Regions from separate parts of the Homo sapiens genome. Here region 1 is linked to region 2. The links are contacts of gene promoters, found by promoter capture Hi-C in human tissues and cell types (Jung and others, 2019). All regions are on one chromosome and are shown on one strand. The core of a region is centred on a gene start or on the middle of the fragment in contact, and the rest is flanking DNA. Distances in the headings are between cores, read along the strand shown. Region 1 overlaps LOC124900954 (a long non-coding RNA gene). Region 2 holds the start of DROSHA (drosha ribonuclease III).

Evidence for each region. The method cuts DNA at HindIII sites, captures the fragments that hold promoters and counts their contacts. A contact is called where the count stands out against the background at its distance.
Region 1: a fragment that was not itself captured here is called in contact with the fragment with the promoter of DROSHA in region 2 in 1 of the 25 tissues and cell types used here (dorsolateral prefrontal cortex).

Annotation. Positions count from the first base shown.
Region 1 is chr5:32,537,354-32,542,643 of GRCh38, forward strand. All of the region lies in intron 4 of LOC124900954 (a long non-coding RNA gene), which reads left to right. Among named protein-coding and RNA genes, the nearest start is that of SUB1, 46 kb to the right of the region's middle. RefSeq lists enhancers at 556-765, 5,023-5,222. The HindIII fragment of the contact is 3,761 bases long and covers 891-4,651 here.
Region 2 is chr5:31,528,619-31,533,689 of GRCh38, forward strand. It overlaps DROSHA (drosha ribonuclease III), which reads right to left and starts at 3,475. Exons shown (of 36, transcript NM_001382508.1): 1 at 3,372-3,475; 2 at 2,832-2,907; 3 at 2,180-2,306; 4 at 422-487. The coding sequence starts at 441. C5orf22 (chromosome 5 open reading frame 22) reads left to right here and starts at 3,683. Exons shown (of 9, transcript NM_018356.3): 1 at 3,683-3,855. The coding sequence starts at 3,775. RefSeq lists enhancers at 3,555-3,724, 3,755-3,804, 3,855-3,904. The HindIII fragment of the contact is 14,071 bases long and covers 1-5,071 here.

The sequences.
Region 1 (5,290 bases), core at 1,521-4,020, 1.0 Mb after region 2:
GTGTGCGTGTTTAAAGCACCAAACATAATATCCAATGATTTTTGTTATGACACACATGTTCTTTCAGGATAGTGTGTGATAATCAAGTTGTGCTTTTATTTATTCAACTGACATTTGAATCACTTTCCCTGTACCTAACTATCCCACCATGGGCTGTCGTTACTAATCTGAATTTAAAGAGGTCCCTGGTGTCAAGGAGAGCCTGGCTGATTGTGAGAGAGGCAGACAATACAAGTGAAGAAATAGTGTAGCTATGATGGAGACATGAGATAGTGGGATGACTCACAGTGATGCTTTATGAAACCCAAGGGCCACAAAGCTTCAGGAAGTAGGGAAGCAGGAAATGAACTACCAGGATGCAGACTTGCTCTTCATCCCTCATTTTCCCATTTCACACTTTCTTTTTTTTCTTTTTTTGAGACAGAATCTCACTCTGTCACCCAGGCTGGAGTGTAGTGGTGTGATCTTGGCTCACTGCAACCTCTGCCTCCTGGGTTAAAGCGATTCTCCTGCCTCAGCCTCTTGAGTAGCTGCAACTATAGGCACGCGTGGCCGCACCCAGCTAATTTTTTTATTTTTAGTAGAGATGAGGTTTCACCATGTTGGCCAGGCTTGTCTCGAACTCCTGACCTCAAGCGATCCTCCTGCCTCTGCCTGCCAAAGTGCTGGGATTACAGGTGTGAGCCACCGCACCTGGCCCCATTTCACACCTTCTTCCCTCTGTGGCTTCTCTCTATTTCTAGGGAGAAACATGACAGAAGTCAGCTGCTCTAGAATCAACAGACTCCTCTCCAGTTGGCATCCCACCATACAGCGGTGGCGTCATACGTTCATACATATGCTGCAGCCAAAGGGGGAGGCTCATCAACCCAGGAGGCACCCACAGGTGCCTCTCAGAGGTGATGAAAGAGGAAGTGGGGGCAGGCAGAGGTAATGGTTGTAATTTGAGTCACTTCTGTTAACTGTACCCACTTTTAGACAGCTTAATCCACTTTGACTCTGGAAAAGTGTGAACAGAAACCTTGCTGGGTTTGGAGGAGAGACAGCCTCCCACTGCTCTTCCCAGGGGAGTCCTGGAACAGGCTGCCGTGGAGGCTCAGGGCAGGCCTGGAGATGTGGCGCTGGTTCAAGGCCAGACCCGGCTGTGTCAAATTTGGATGGACTAGGAAAAGTTCCTGTACAGAAATAACAGAGACTGGAGATTATGTGTGGGAATTATTCTACTCTTATCCTGAGTATGTCTGTACTTCAATCCTGGTGCTCACTTCAAGAAAGAGGAGGATGGGGTTGCCGTTGCTCTCAAGAAAGAGGAGGATGGGGTTGCCATTGCTCTAGCAGACTACTGTTACTCCCAGAAGCTCACTTAAAGGTTCCATTTCCATAACCAATTACAGAGCAAATGCTTTTTCATAGGAATTGGTCTTTGCGGGGTTGACATTTCAGGTTGCAAAGACCCCGAAGCTTTAGGAAAGCTGAACTTTGCCGTTGAGAAATTTAGGAGGGTAGAAATTGCAACACTATCTTAGCTGCAATTAGCTGGCATTTCTGCCAAGCGCTAATACATATTTCACCCTAACTTCCAGTGAAGGACGACATTGATAAGAATATTTGGGGAGTAGCTGTGAAAGTTCATCTGGTTTTAATAGGGAAACATTGTCCTTTTCTCTGCTGATTGGAGAGCAGGTCAGGCATGAAACTGGCCTCACCCAGGAAAGACTCACATGGTTCATTCTCTCTCCAGGAATGGTAGGGAAAGCACGTGTTTTGAAACACTGGGTTTTCCCTGGCCCGGGAGAAAGTGGATCAAAAGAATCGCTGTTTTCTCCGCTGTTGTTTGGGTTCTCTAGTTTGAAAGGGTCATGGTGGTGTCTCCTGATGGGCCATTAAAGGCAATGTTGAGGAGAATAGAGAAAATACATGAAGAAAGAATAAGGAAAATTGGACATTTGGTAGAAAAGCCCAGGATTCTCTGGAGAAACGTTGGAGGTAGTGCCGAGAGAGTCTGCTGCACCAGAGGTGCCCCACCAGGGGCCCCACCAGGGGACTCTTTAAAAGAATGTTCTTGAGCTAAATTCCTGCCAACCTTCCCATGTAGCTGGTGCAATTTTCACTCCATATTCTGCTTTCTTTATTTTCTACCGCAACTGAATTCTGAGTTCCTAATCCACTGGGACTCACACTTAATAGCCTGTCTATCTACTGGCATTTGTTTGCATTGTACAAGTACAACCAAAGGCTATAGGCTTTTGGGAGCCACAGTCAGGAAGAAGTCTATCTGTCTGTCTCTCTGTTCTTTAGACTTCAGTCTTCTTACACCCTTTCCAAATGGCAACGGGCACAAAATGGCCTATCTGCTGGAAGTGGGCAATGAGCAAAAGAGACACATACATGGAAACAATGAGTTAAGAATTTAAAATATTATTCTGCACACACGTAAGTGGGAACTTCATGTCCTCTGTTCAGAAGTAAAGCAGTTGGAACCTCTGGAATCAGAATCATCTGTGCATTTGCTAAAAATATAGATTCTTGTGCCCTACCCAAATTCTGCACCCGAAAATTCTGATTCTGCCTGAATCAGAATCTTTCCAGGCAATTCTTATGTGCATCAAAGCTTGAGAGTTGCCTAGACGCAGCCTCAGCTGAACCATCTACTGTGTTTTAATACTGAGTTGTGCTTGTTCTCAAGCTGGTTCAGAGCACTTTAATGTGCATTCAAATCATGCTGAGGTCTTGTTAAGTTAGGTGGTGGGACGTGAGATTCTGCATGTCTAACAAACGCTTGGGTGATGCTGCCACTGCTGGTTGGAGGACCACCCCTTGGGTGGCAAAGTGCTAGAGAGACTATTTTTATTTCCTTTGCACTCCTGTGAGGCCATCTTGAGGCTTCTCAAGTCCCTGGGGCCAGTGATTTGCTTGCACTGGGATTGGAGATTGCTGCACCCTCATGGGTACTGTGCTTTGTTGACTGGGCTCTATCTCATGCTCATCCAGATTTACCCTGCCTTCCTGCTTCCCCTTCCATCTCCTCAGCCAACACCCCTATTCCCACCCTCACTCTTCTACCCCCACTCTGCCTAAGGGGCAGCCCTGCTGCCATAGCCTGGTCTTCCTCACACTGTGGGTCTACTCTGACTATAGATACATAATTGAATATCTTTAGATAATCTTCAGATTTGCTAGTATGATAAAGTCCTTCTTCCTCCTAGGAGAAAAGGGGAAGTGGGACTCGAAGCAAGCATGTAAAATTGAGTCAGGAGTTCTTTTTTCTCTTTAGGGCCACCATCAGTGGGTGGCCCCAGTGTAATGGAATGGAGTGGAAGATGTTACCATTTCCTACACTGTCCTTGACCTTGAAAGAAGAACTGAATCTATGGGACCTACTGCCACTTTCTATAGGTGGAGGGGAAAGGGGAACCCCGTTGCATGGCATAAGCTTATCCCTCAAGTCCTTGGTGAGCGGGGGTTGGGGGTAAGAGGGAAGAATTACAGGGTGTTAGAAGTGGTGAGATTCTTTTCTCCAGTCATGGAGAACTTCTGATATTCAATCCAGAATGGCTTTAATTGCTACTAGTTAACAATAAGAAAGAAGGTCTACAGTTGAGGTCTAGGGAAAGACTGGCTTGTAGTGCTCCTCAGGCTTGCAGTCACATTGAAAAGTCTAATGGTGGCCAGGCGCGGTTGCTCATGCCTGTAATCCCAGCACTTTAGAAGGCCGAGGTGGGCAGATCACCTGAGGTCAGGAGTTCGAGACCAGTCTTGCCAGCATGGTGAAACCCTGTCGCTACTAAAAATACAAAAATTTGCTGGGCATGGTGGTGGGTGCCTGTAATCCCAGCTACTTGGGAGGCTGAGGCAGGAGAATTGCTTGAACCCGGAAGGCGGAGGTTGCAGTGAGCGGAGATTGTGCCACTGCAGTCACATGAGATTGTGCCACTGCGGCAGAGCGAGACTCTGTCTCAGAAAAAAAGAAAAGAAAAGAAAAGAAAAGTCTAATGGTTAGAGTGAAGCCAGCCATAGCCAGTGGACTGTCATGACAATAGATACAGATAAAAATTCCAGACTGTACAGTTGTTGACTGTGGCTCTGGGCCAGAGTAAGATCTCTTAGGCCTGGGAAAGTAACCATAGATGTCACTGGCCCTGAGGCCAAGCAGAGCCAGTACCTCTCAGAGCAGTGGCTTGCAAACTAGGGTCTGCAGAAAGCTCTTTCAGCATCACCGGGGGAGATTCATAACAGCAATGCCAACACCCACCCTGAAGAGTCTGATTCAGCAGGGCCTCATGAGCTATATTTAAAAAATATATTATATGGGCAATTTAACAGTAAGTTAAATTGCAAGTTTTGACTTTGTCGGGTTTACGAAGCAATGCCTTAGCACAATGGTTTCCCAAATTTTTAGCAGAGAAAAATTTATTAACTAGAAAAATATTTATTGAACAATTACTGTATGCCATGTATTGTTGTAAGCCCTGGACAAAAAGTGGTAAATAAGACTGACGAGGTGGCTGGGCACCTGCAATCCCAGCACTTTGGGAGGCTGAGATGGGCAGGTCACTTGAGGTTAGGTATTTGAGACCAGCCTGGCCAACATGGTGAAACCCCCATCTCTACTAAAAATACAAAAATTAGCTGGGCATGGTGGCGTGCGCCTGTAGTCCCAGCTACTCGGGAGGCTGAGGCACGAGAATTGCTTAAACCCTGGAGGCGGAGGTTGCAGTGAGCCAAGATTGCACCACTGCTCTCCAGCCTGGGTGATAGAGCAAAACTCTGTCTCCAAAAAAAAAGAAAAGAAAATGACTGACAAGGTTTCCACTGAACTCTAAGACAGATAAAAATGAGGAGCGGATTTTTCAGGAATGTTAAACACTCATTGTTTAGAAGAAAATACTGTTTGTTGTTGAACCCCTGAAGTACCATCAGGTTCTGTGATGCACAGTTTGAGAACTGCTTTCTTGGGAAGGAGCTTAGAGCAATAAAACTATAAGATGGCAGAAGGAATGTCCAACACAGTGGGGTTCAAATGACAAACCTGGAAGCCTTTTCCACTTCCTCGTTGATAAAGTGGAGACAATGACATCTACCTCAAGTCTTACTGTGAGTAAGAAAAGAACTGAACACATACATTGTGGAGCTCAATGTTGGGTGTGCAGCTGGACCCTGCTGCATTTTTGTTCTCTTTCGTCTGTCTTTGCTTGGGAACAGGTCACTTCACTTTGATTGGGAGTAAGTTTGAGGAGAAAACAAGACATTCCTGGAAGCGTGTTGCCACTTGAGGCTCAGGTGGGATAAC
Region 2 (5,071 bases), core at 2,225-4,724:
TCATCACCTCTTACATGGCTATTATAATAATATCCTTGCTGGCCTTTCTACAACCACTGTCACTGACCCTAGGGCTTTGTTAGGTTCCTTGCTCTCACAACACTCTGTGCTGCTTCTTAGCAGGTCCTACAATAATTACAATCCACCTTCTAAGGACCTAATTCCACCTTTAATGTCTGCCTGCACCTCGGAACTGCAAGCGCTGTCAGGGCAGCGCTCTGGGATTTCTATTAACTGTTCTGGTCTGGCTTCCCAGCCCTGGGCATGGCCCTCTATTGTATTGTGCCCACTGTTGAAAGAATGAGCACATTATCCCCTCTCCCCATGTATCTAAATCCTTTCCACCCTCTATAGCCCAGCACCAATGTCTGCTCCTCTCTCGGTTCTCCCAAACTATTGCCATTCCCATCACGGCACTCACCATGTGTTTCCCTGCATCATGATGTTCCGCCTGGATATGTCACATCTTCCACAGAGAATATAAGCTCTAAAAAACAGAAAGAATAAAACAGACATAAACATGTTTCCCAAACTGCCAATGCTACAAAATATTTCTGCAATTACCATAACACTAATTTTGTAGTTTCCAATACACTTAGCCTACAAACAAAATTAAAAGCATGTTGAACTGTGTTAAAGTTTCCAACTAAATTTTTAATGTCCTTAAATTTTAAAATGTCATTATTACTAGTTTTGCCAACTCAAAACTATCAGCAGCTAAAAAGACTTATAGGCATAGATCATCTCTAATTTGTTAAAAGACTTGGGAAAAATATCATTTCCCCTCTCCCCCTTCATACTCTCGTTTCCTTCATGGTAAAAACAGGTAGGCATAGGCCGGGCATGGTAGTTCACGCCTGTAATCCCAGCACTTTGGGAGGTCGAGGCAGGTGGATCACGAGGGCAGGAGGTGGAGACCATCCTGGCTAACACAGTGAAATCCTGTCTCTACTAAAAATACAAAAACTTAGCCGGGCGTGGTGGTGGGCGCCTGTAGTCCCAGCTACTCGGGAGGCTGAGGCAGGAGAATGACATGAACCTGGGAGGCAGAGCTTGCAGTGAGCCGAGATGGCGCCACTGCATTCCAGCCTGGGCGACAGTCTCAAAAAAACAAACAAAAAAAAAAAAACAAAAAAAAAAACAAACCATGTAGGCATAGACCAAACACAAAAATCACAGTGAGACCAGCATTCAAATTCAAACATAACCAGAATCTTGTTAACACACCAGTTAATGATTCTTAATTTTCATTCTCAGTTCCTCCCACATAAAAACACTGTAAACATGAATGATTTTCCAAATACTTGAACTTCAGCAAAACATTTTTTAAAAACTCACATAAATATTGAGTACAAAAAGCTGTAACATAGAAACATTTTCTGAAAGTCTTTCTAAAAGTCTCATCAATAGAACTTTACTATGTAGACTTTCAAATGGCTCATGAAAATAATTTCAGATTATGCTAGCAGTCAGTGTGCTTAATAAATAATAGGCACCAAATAATATCTGATTTTTTTTTTAAGACACAAAGTCTACTCTGTCCCTAAGCTGGAGTGCAGTGGTGCAATCATAGCTCACTGCTGTCTCTTACTCCTGGGCTCAAGCAATCCTCTCACCTCAGCCTCCAAAATAGCTGGAACTACAGGCGTGAGTCACTGCGCCTGACTCCTTATTACTATTATCCAGTCCAGTACCCTCATGATAAACCTGGGGCCCGGACAGGTGCTCCTGCCACCATAGGCTACTCACTGCCAACAGAATCAAGTTCAACCTCTGTGCTTGGCATTTAAGGCTCTATTGACTCTGGACCCAGGCTTGTTCTCCAGTACCTTCCCCAGAAAGACCCTACTACCCCATGTTTTCCCAACAGATTACCATTCGAGTACAAAGAACCAGCTAGTTCTTTGCTCCCGTTCTCCTCTCTAAAATCTCCCACCCTAGGCAGAGGTTGCAGTGAGTTCAGATCGCGCCATTGCACTCCAGCCTGGGCAACAAGAGCGAAACTCTAGCTCAAAAAAAAAAAAAAAAAAAAATCTCCCAACGTATGAATCTGCCCAGTGATTTTCTATCCATCTATCAATCTTAAATGCCACCTCCTCTATGAAGCCCTTCCTGATTCCCTTAGGTAATCCCATTCCCTCTAGACTTAGTCTATACTTAATCCTTTTACAGCACTTACCAGAGACTGCCTCATATCATAGTGAAGTATGCACACGTCTAACTCTTCCACTAGATTATCAGCTCCTTGATGATATGGGTTGATTCACAGTCATTTCTGTATCCTTCACATCCCCGGGAAAAGCAACCTACACACAGTAGGTGGTCAATAAATGTTTACTCTCTCACCAATAGTATGTTTCCATGTTGCTACTGTACATTTCCCTTCCATGTACCTCCGCAACAGAAAGCAGGCCTTTTCACTGAGTCATGCAATATTTAATGAGCCCATAAATGGGAAGCACTGTCCCAGGCCCTGTAGACTCAGAGATAATAAGACACACAGCCTGTAGGATTCAAGGAACTCAGAACCCACGTACAAGTAAGTGTTTTAAAAATACAAAATAATGCAATAAACACACAAAAAAGAGGTATGTGCAGGGCTTAGGGGAACACAAAGGTGTGTGCCGCACCTAGAGGTGGGCAAAAGTCAGGGTCACGAACACTCTTGTACAGTGTGTAACAAGAGCTGAACATTCACTGCCAGATCCTCATGGATGTTTCAGTAGTTAGAAAATCTAAAAATACTAATCATGAAATTGACCTATTGAAGGCATAGTCCGGCTGTGTTGTGGATGCAGACTTTAATTCAAAAGTCAAGGAATTCACTGCACCTGGAAAAGTAACTCTCTTTTCTCCGTCTGTCTCTTCTCGGTTGCGGTTTGGAAACAGAGACACTGAAGGAGCTGTCTTGAATAGTTAACACGGCCAGAACGTCAGTGCATGTAAAAAGAATTTTAAAGTGTGACTACATTTTTATTGAGAACTCCCTCTTTCCCCAGGTGGATCTGCAGGGCAGTCACCTTCATCCTGATCCATAACTGCACATTTACTGTTTGCATCTCCCGCCAGACGGTACGCCCCACGAGGCAGGCGCTGAGCTCAGGATCTCACTCCCCTCCGAGAGCCGGGCGGCCCCAGGCCTGGACCATAGTGTGTGCTCCACAAATGAATGAAAGGTCTCCTTTTTCACTTCCACTTATTTGCGGGATCCAGGCCTAGCGTCGCTCTTTTGCCCTTAGCTGCAGATCTGAAGTGGGGCTGCCCGACCCCAATTCCCGGACGCTTTTCACCCCAGCCCCGGAGACTCCAGCCCCGTTTAAATCCTGACACTCGGAAACTCTCTTCTAACACTTGCAAGGTACCCCTTTTACCTATAAAAGGCTCTCGGGCCGCGAGATCGCCGTCAGAGCAAAGCCAGGCTACTACCGCAGGTACCAAGACAGTGGCACCGCCCGCGCCTCCGGAACAGGAAACCGAGGGAATTAAAAAGCAAACCTGAGAAAGCTGGGCCAAGGGAGGGAAAACTCTTCAGCCCACCGCAGGGCCTTGTGCGCGGTGATTGGCGCGTCAACGAAAGCGATGGACGTCTAGACCAATCGTCAGCAAAAGACCCTTTGGAGCCCGCGCCCCCTCCCCCTACGTCCTCCAATCCGAAAACGCAACCGGGTGAGGGAGCGCTTCCGCCCGGAGAGAGCTGGCCGGGATGAGGCGCCGGCTTTCCCGGGTCTTCTCCAGCTGCCACCGCTTTACTGCAAAACTGACGGGCGCAAAAACATGAGTGACTCCGCGGGAGGGCGCGCTGGTCTCCGGCGTTACCCCAAGCTCCCAGTGTGGGTGGTGGAGGATCATCAGGAGGTGAGCGGACGGCAACAGGGCTCTGGGGCAGAATCAGCGGAAGCCCTGACGCTCAGAGGGCCAAGCAGAGGGCGCAACCTTAGCATCGGAGGCCAGAGAGTTAACCAGAGTTAAACTGCCCTATTCCGTTGCTGTGGAGAGGACCCCAAAACAGCTAACTAGGAAGAATGAGAACTGACATTTATGGGCGCTTCCTACGAGTCGGGGCAACTTATTTACCTCGGTTTGCCCCCAAATCCCAGAACCAAACAAAAGGTGGCATCGGGATTCGAAACCGGACAGTCTGGCTGCAGAGCCCTGTGTTCTTAACCTGCAGTTAACTCTGGCTTCCAAGTATCTCCTGGAATCGCCACCACAGCCCTGCTGTTTAGATGGGAGGCTTTATGCTTGGAACGTGGGCTCTGATCTGAAATGGGGACAGTAATCGTAGGACTCACAGGGCTCTTAGGAGTATTATTGTGTGCATACTGTGTTTAAAAATCTTTTTTTTTTCTTTTTTGAGACGGAGTCTCTCTCTGTTACCCAGACTGGAGTGCAGTGGCGCGATCTCGGCTCACTGCAACCTCCGCCTCCTGGGTTCGAGCGATTCTTCTGTCTCAGCCTCCTGAGTAGCTGGGATCACAGGCACGCATCACCGTACCCAGCTAATTTTTGTATTTTTAGTAGAGACGGGGCTTCGCCACGTTAGCCAGGATGGTCTGAAAGTCTGACCTCACGTGATCGGCCCCCGCCGGCCTCCCAAAGTGCTGGGATTGCAGGCGTGAGCTACTGCGCACGGCCCATATTGCGTAAAAAAAAAAAAAAATTTAACACGGTGCCCTGCATAGATAAACACTAAAAGGGGTTTCCATGTTTATGGCCGTGCTGATTTACAGTAGCCAAATTGGTGTCTTAATCTAGACTTTTCCAAGTCAACAAAGGAGGCCCATGGATCTAATAAATATGTTTTAAAGTAGCATCAGTAGGCTTGGGATGGGAGGCAGTTCTCTGGACGTTAAAAAAGAAGAGGGATTTACTGTTGGTGACAGCTAATAGGAGAGGAAGATAGGTTTCTCAGGACCTGGATATAGTGTCTATGACCTTGAGAGAATGAGAAAGCCTAGGTTAGACGGTGCTTTCAAATTAGGTATTAAACCTAGAATTAGAGAAGATGTAAGAGGAGAAATGGCCTTTATAGACCACCTAGCCCAACCCCACCATTCTAAGTGTACCAAAA